Regions from separate parts of the Homo sapiens genome. Here region 2 is linked to region 1. Evidence: promoter capture Hi-C in 16 types of primary human blood cells and fetal thymus (Javierre and others, 2016). All regions are on one chromosome and are shown on one strand. The core of a region is centred on a gene start or on the middle of the fragment in contact, and the rest is flanking DNA. Distances in the headings are between cores, read along the strand shown.

Evidence for each region. Contacts are between HindIII fragments. The CHiCAGO score rates a contact against its expected background, and 5 or more counts as called.
Region 2: a contact is called between a fragment that was not itself captured here and the fragment with the promoter of ADAMTS16 in region 1, in 1 of 17 cell types (megakaryocytes). The highest score is 5.6, in megakaryocytes.

Annotation. Positions count from the first base shown.
Region 1 is chr5:5,138,886-5,142,541 of GRCh38, forward strand. ADAMTS16 (ADAM metallopeptidase with thrombospondin type 1 motif 16) reads left to right here and starts at 1,445. Exons shown (of 23, transcript NM_139056.4): 1 at 1,445-1,654; 2 at 1,779-1,881. The coding sequence starts at 1,583. It overlaps ADAMTS16-DT (ADAMTS16 divergent transcript), which reads right to left and starts at 1,169. Exons shown (of 4, transcript NR_109915.1): 1 at 1,071-1,169. ADAMTS16-AS1 (ADAMTS16 antisense RNA 1) reads right to left here. Exons shown (of 2, transcript NR_198969.1): 2 at 3,253-3,486. RefSeq lists an enhancer at 651-1,217. The HindIII fragment of the contact is 3,896 bases long and covers 1-3,623 here.
Region 2 is chr5:5,374,424-5,378,079 of GRCh38, forward strand. All of the region lies in intron 2 of LOC101929200 (a long non-coding RNA gene), which reads right to left. It also overlaps the pseudogene ALG3P1. Among named protein-coding and RNA genes, the nearest start is that of ICE1, 46 kb to the right of the region's middle. The HindIII fragment of the contact is 5,761 bases long and covers 1-3,656 here.

The DNA.
Region 1 (3,656 bases), core at 195-2,694:
CTCGATCTCCTGACCTCGTGATCCGCCCGCCTCGGCCTCCCAAAGTGCTGGGATTACAGGCGTGAGCCACCGCGCCCGGCCTACTGCTCACTCTTTGGGTCCACTCTGCTTTCATGAGCTGTAACACTCACCGTGAAGATCTGCAGCTTCACTCCTGAGCCCAGCGAGACCACGAGCCCACCGGGAAGAACGAACAACTCCAGAGGCTCTGCCTTAAGAGCTGTAACACTCACCGCCTAGGTCTGCAGCTTCAATCCTGAGCCAGCGAGACCACGAACCCACCAGAAGGAAGAAACTCCGAACACATCTGAACATCAGAAGTAACAAACTCCAGACGCACCACCTTAAGAGCTGTACCCACTCACCGCGAGGGTATGCGGCTTCATTCTTGAAGTCAGTGAGACCAAGAACCCACCAATTCCAGACACACTATGGGCTCACAGCGTGTACTCGCGCACACGCAGTCAGGTGTGGATGTACACCCGCGCACACCCAGGCACATGTACACCCGCGCGCTCACACACCCCATCCAGCTACAGCAGAATTCTGGCCAGGCTGTTGACCGCACACCTGCTGCCTCCTTGGCCACCCTGTCCACACAGTAGCCCGATCGACCCCCGTGGCGGCCGAGACCCAGGCCCATCCGCAGCCCTGAGACCTCCCTAGGGATTGCACCCAGCAGCCAGTCACCGGCCTCCGCGGCCTGGCCAGTTGAGGGTGGCCGTGACCGCGGGGCCAGGAGCGCCGCCACATCTCGGGGCAAATGGCGCGGGGGAAGAGTTTCCTCCTCAGCCTCCCCGTCTCCGATCGCTCCGCAAACTCCAGAGCGAGGCACGCGCCTTTAAAGGCAGGTCCGCGGCTCTCCCACGTCCTGGCGCCCGGTTTTCCGCACCCAGTGTCCCCACAGCTGTGCCCGGGCACAGAGGCGCGGCCAGACCGCACTCCGCGGGCTGCAGGTGTCCCGGCCTCTGGCGGCGCCGGTGCGGCCCGGAGGTGGGAGCCCGCGGAGCCACTGCAGTAGCTGGAGTCCCGCCGAGTCCCCAGCCCCAAGGCAGGGCAGGAGCGCGCACCGGCCGGAGGTCCATGCTGAGCATCGCCCGCGCCGGTGCCCGGCAGCCTCTCCAACTGTGTGGTCCCCGCGCGGGCAGAGAGGCACGGACTGCAGGCCGTGGGCAGCTCCATCTTCCCGCGTCCTCCTCCTCTGGCGCTGCCCGCTGTCTCCCGCCTTCCCTCTGCTCCCCGCTCGCCTCCGCCTCAGCGCCCCGCTGACCTCGCCTCCTCCCCTCTGCTCTTTGTCCCTGCACTCTCCCCTCCTCGGTCCTCTGACCCCCCCGCCCTCACCTCCTCCCCTCCTCTCTCCCCTGCCCGCCCCGCGCTCTCCCACCGCTCCCGCCGCCCCCGCCGCCGCGGCTGCCACTCCGCCCCCCGCGCCGCACGGAGCTTCAGTAATAACCCCGGCGCGGCGGCGGAGTCGCTGTGGGGAATCCTCCCGCGCTCTGCCTGGGTCGGGTCCTCCCTGCCCGCTCGCACGCTGCCGGCCGGGGACCCTCCGGTGGCCCCTAGCCCCTCGGAGCGCTCCTGGATGAAGCCCCGCGCGCGCGGATGGCGGGGCTTGGCGGCGCTGTGGATGCTGTTGGCGCAGGTGGCCGAGCAGGTGAGTCCCGGGCGCTCCCACCAGCGCGGAAACCGCGGGTCCGGACAGCTGGAGGCGAGTCCCCCGCGGCTCCTCTCCCGCGGACCCCGCCGTCTCACCGCGATGTCGCCGCTGTTTTCCGCAGGCACCTGCGTGCGCCATGGGACCCGCAGCGGCAGCGCCTGGGAGCCCGAGCGTCCCGCGTCCTCCTCCACCCGCGGAGCGGCCGGGCTGGATGGAAAAGGGCGGTAAGTCCGTGAGGTGGGGGCTTCTAATCCTTGCCATTTAGCAGCTCGTAATCTCCGTGCCGCTGGTTTATTAGGTGCTGTGAATGTTCACGACTCTGTGGAACCCTACTTTTAAGATGCTGTTGTGAACTTTTTTTTTTTTTAACTGTATGAGCGAGCCCCGATGAGTGGATTTCCACCAATATTTACATTTTATTCCCTGGCAAAACGGTTTGCCAGAGTTATTGATATAACATTAGGAAAAAGGTGAGGAAGTTCATTTTATTTTATTCTAAAGAGCTTAGGAAGAATCTAAAGCTATTAATGTATGCATCAAAGCCGTCATAAAGAGCAAATTACTTTCTTTTCCGTCCCCTTCTACATCCTCGGATCCTCCTTCCCGTCCCCAACCTTTCCTCCTTCTCCTCCTTTATAGATTAAAATATTCCTCTATCGTTGCTTATTCTCAGTGAAGGAGATAAAAGAAGCGCTTAGCATCTCAATACCAAAGTTAATGCTCCAACAATCAGGGCGTACTTCAAACATAATAGTGCCTGAAATGGCTAATCAGCTGATTGTGACACCATCAGCAACGTTCATATCCTGGGCCACAATTTGACATGAGGGCAAGTCTTATTCTTTTTCAATGCATGCTTTTACTTCTGCCACTTACAAGTGACATTTGGAAATTTGCTGTCTTATGGAAAGGGATCTCTGTGTCTTCATACTGCATCAGGTAAATGAGAACGCAGGTGTGTCGCACTGGTTGCTAGGTGGTTTTTTAACCTGAACCCATCCAATGACAGTTAATAAATATTATTTTGCATTGTTACCAACAATAAATTGCCGTATCAAATGTTAATATTAATTGACTTTTATAGGAAGAACTAGGTTTCATTCTCTCAATGTATTTCCAGAAGATCTAGAAAATTAAAGTTAACAATTCAGAATTTCTCAGTATAGTTATTTCAATTTGATAAAATAACATAAAGGCAAGCACTTAATATATGCATTAACTTTTGAAATTATTCCCTGCCAAATGAGTACACAAATAGTATATAAGGTGACCGGTGTCAGATTGACGCTCACCATAGTACCTTTTTGAGAACCACCAGGGGGCGCTAGGTGCAAATGATATAAAATGTTAAAAAAAATTGTCACAGTGAATTTACAAGAGAAAGTTAATTATCTGTCCATTTACAGACTATCCTCTTGTGGTTGTCCTTGTCCTTTTTAGGGTTTTGCTTACAATACTAAAAGTTAATTCTTACAATTTTAAAGGTTAATTCTAATTCACCTTTTTAAGTAAGATTTTTGTAAAAAAAAAAAAAAAAATTCTAGTTCCCTAAAACCATGAAAATTCCAGAGGGACTCAGGAGATTTCCACAATAGTTTATGGCATTTATGAAGTTTTATTTAAGATAAAACACATTATAGACACAGAAGAAAGAAGAAGAAAAGCCAGGGCTTCGTGCCTAAGTGTGCTTTTCTCCTAAAGTGATTCAATCTGCTTCAGCATCCTCTCTGGGAGTGGGGTGCCAGTGTGCTGCTCTGAACACCTGGCACCACAGTTGTTGTCACAACGTATCGTCTCCATGACAACCACTTATCTGGCTTGGTAAGAACCTGAAGGGGAAGAGGCAAACCCTTCTTAGTGAAGTTCTAGCCCAGTGGACACAGCACACACCCTCCTCCCCTACCTTCTATGCACTTTAGCTCCTTAATTATAAATGGCTAATGTGTGAGTCTGGACATCCACAACAAGCTTTTATGCCACCAGAGAAAAGATCCTCCTC
Region 2 (3,656 bases), core at 476-2,975, 240 kb after region 1:
TGCTCAGGAAAAAGGAAAAAGGAAATGGAGAAGATACGGGCACCAAACAAATTAAGAAGAAGGCAATGCCCATGGGAGAAGCAAAGACCAGCAGAAAAGGGGACGGACCACTCTCGTCCAAAGGAAGTGAGTCATGCTCCATTTGCAGAAAAGTGGCAATAAAAAAAGTTGGTAAAATCAGTACGTTTTAAAATATTTGGTTATTTTCAAAAAAAGGATTAGGGAGATGTTGAGTCCTCATTTTGAGCAGACTTTCCCTGGTGCTGAGTGTGGTCAAGCTCACATCTTCCCCCACATGGTTCCTTGAGACTTAATGAGGAGGCATTCTTGTACATATTTCTTCCATTCACCTCGTTAATTTCCAGCACATTATTCCAATTGTAGTTAAATCATTCATCGTGTAATTAGCTGATGGTCTAATTTTACTCTCTCTCTTCCTTTTCTCCTTCCCTCCTGCCATCCTATCTCTTTTGGATAGATTGACAGGTGAACAACAACTTAAAGCGAAGAAATTTCAACAAGTCTTTGGTTTATTTTAACCAAACTTTTTCTACATATTTTTAGATAGTTAAAAAATCAATAAGGAATTATTGAAAGCATGTTTTTCCAGGCCTTTTGAGCTTAAAAATTAAAGACAATATCCCAAGGAAAGGATGCAACTAAATTTTTTAGACAATAAACTTCAAATACTCATATTTCATGTATTTATTTATATCAAAATGAAACTGAATATTTAAACTAGAATGATAGAGCACGTAAATTCAATTACTTAGCTGTCACTCATTCTAAGAATACAAACATATAAGTGACTCAATCAAAAGTGGATATTTTAAAAATATATAGAACAAATTATAATTTCTGAAAGGCTCAAATTAACCAGTTTAGAATGTTCAAAATTTGGTCCAAAAGCTGGAAACCAACTCCTGTAAAATTAGCATACTTTATACAAATGGATTAATCCAGAAGACAATACAAGATCCCTGTGTACTCCTGTGAATTCAGCTTCCTTCTGTGTCTTTGTGTCAATATTGTAGCCATAGCATTGTTGATCGAGATACATAAAAGTCCTAGTGATTTTGACTGGATGTGTGGCTGTCTGTTGCCTTTCCATGCACATCCTGTGTGAATCCCTCTATATATAGAGAGAGGAAGTCTATGTGTGTGTGTGTGTGTGTGTGTGTGTGTGTGTGTGTGTCTGTGTGTGTGTATTGGACTTGGCAAGGTTTATTTGGAAGGGCACAGAGTCTATCTCACTCCCCCAGGTCCTGAGAGTGCACTGGAGGGAAAGGGGTGGATTTCAGGGAACTTTCTTGCTGTGTTGGATGCTCTTGGGGAATGGCTGCAGGCCCAGCCAGAGCTGCAGCAAGAGGACAGCATGGCACACATGCTGGGCAGCAGAGCAGTAGGATGTGGAGGGGTATGTGTTCCAGGAGAGCTCCATGAGCCCCACCACCAGCAACCTGAGCAGGTGTGTGAGCCAGTGTGCAGTCCTGGCCCACAGGAGGTAGGGCAGTGTGTGGAAATACCAGACACAGAACTGGTAGTGGAGGGAGGTGGCTAAAGCAGATGCCAATGAAGTTAGAGGTGAAGAGGGTAGAAACGATCTGGTTGGCTATGAAGGGCTTGGGTGGAACCTTCCTTTTGGAGGGATCCTTCATCAGTGACAAGATACATTCCCCCATCCTGGGCCACCAGTAGAGGGTAAACAGCAAGAGCAAGGTGAGGTGGGTGGCCATCAGGGCCAGGTGGAAGGCACGGTGCAGGCAGAGAGCCCCTGGGAGGAAGCACCAGTTCATTGTCCAGCAGAACAGAAACTGGCGGCCAAGGTCAAAGGAGCGAGACAGGTAGCCAGTGGGCTTCTCCAGCAGGAAGGGCAGCCCCAGCACCACCTGAAGGCCAACACAGATGCCCAGCTTGGGGAAGGCCCCACGGCAGCCAAACTGTGTGAGGAGAAGAAACAGTAACCCAGGGGCGAACAGCAGCACTTTCATCTTCACAGAGGCTGCCAGGCTGGAACACCAGCAGCCCCAGCCCCAGCGCTGGACCAGCAGGAGGCTGATACCGAGGGCACTGGGTCATAGGAGAGCCACAGCACAAAGGTGCAGTGGACACAGTAAGAGGCGTGGCACATGAAAAATAAGATAAAGGGAGGTACCTTGTAGGTCTGGAGGTAGATCAAGAAGACAAGCAGCAAGGTGGCCAGGCAGAGCACAGCAAAGATGTTCTGGACATGTGAATGTCAGTGCCTCGGCCAGGGGCATAGAACAGCCCCATAAAGATGGACACAAAACCAGCTGGGTACACAAGTGGCCCACTGTCACAGGCCACTGTCATAGACAGCTGGGTCTAGTCATAGGTACCGCTGATGACGCCTTCCACCTGGGCCATGTAGGCCTTCTGGTCGATCTCTGTGTCTTTCACTAATTTTCAGATTTTGTAATAGGAGTCGTTCAGGTACCTGTAGAGGAACTGGCACAGGATGTGCAGGGAAAGGAGGAAGACAGCCACACATCCAGGTGAGCCAGGTGTGAGAAAACATGGATAGGGCCAGGCGTGATAATCCCAGTGCTTTGGGAGGCCAAGGCAAGTGGATCACCTGAGGTCAGGAGTTCGAGACCAACCTGAGTAACATGGCGAAACTCCATCTCTACTAAAAATACAGAAATTAGCCAGGTGTGGTGGCGGGTGTCTGTAATCCCAGCTACTTGGGAGGTTGAGGAAGGAGAATTGCTTGAACCTGAGAGGTGGAAGTTGTAGTGAGCTGAGGTCATGTCACTGCACTCAGTGAGCTGAGATTGCACCACTACACTCCAGCCTGGGTGAGAGAGCAAGACTCCATCTCAAAAAAAAAAAAAGAAAAGAAAGAAAGAAAGAGAACATGAGCAGATGCATTACAGATTTGACTCAAAAGCAACTGTTTCAGAGGTTCAAATTGATCTATGCACCCTTCTAAGGGACTCAAATGGTTAAGAATGTCACCAGACGAATCTCAGAGTAAAAACCAAAGCCCAAAAAGACTGCTCCAAAAAGAGACTCATCATCACGAACTTCTAGGTCAATTACACATTTTAAGGTCACCAGAGCAGGAATGTCACTAAGGCGAATTTTTTCTTCAGGACCTGCTAAACAATGACAATACTCAGATCAGGAAAGTAAATGAACTTATTGGGACCGATTTTAAATTATCTCAATTGCCTGAATGAGCGCTATATTCATTTTCATCGTTGTCCCACCCCAGGCTTCTGGTAAAGCCCTAGCGTTTCAATTACTTTACAAAAAGTCTTAAAAAGCAAGTTAATTCTCATTTCACACTCAAGTGAATCAGCTTTTACTTTGAGTTTCCGTAATGACAAAGTAAGTCTTTGATATGCTTTGGCTATGTCCCCACTCAAATCTCATCATGAATTATAGCTCCTGTAATCCCCACATGTTGTGGAAGGGACTCGGTGGGAGGTAACTGAATCCTGGGGGTGGATTTTTCCCATGCTGTTCTCATGATAATGAATAAGTCTCACGAGATCTGATGGTTTTATAAAGGGAAGTTCCCCTGAAAGCATTCTCTTGCCTGTTGCCATGTAAGACGTGCCTTTGCTTCTCCTTCGCCTTCCACCGTGATTGTGATGCCTCCCCAGCCATGTGGAACTGCGAGTCCATTA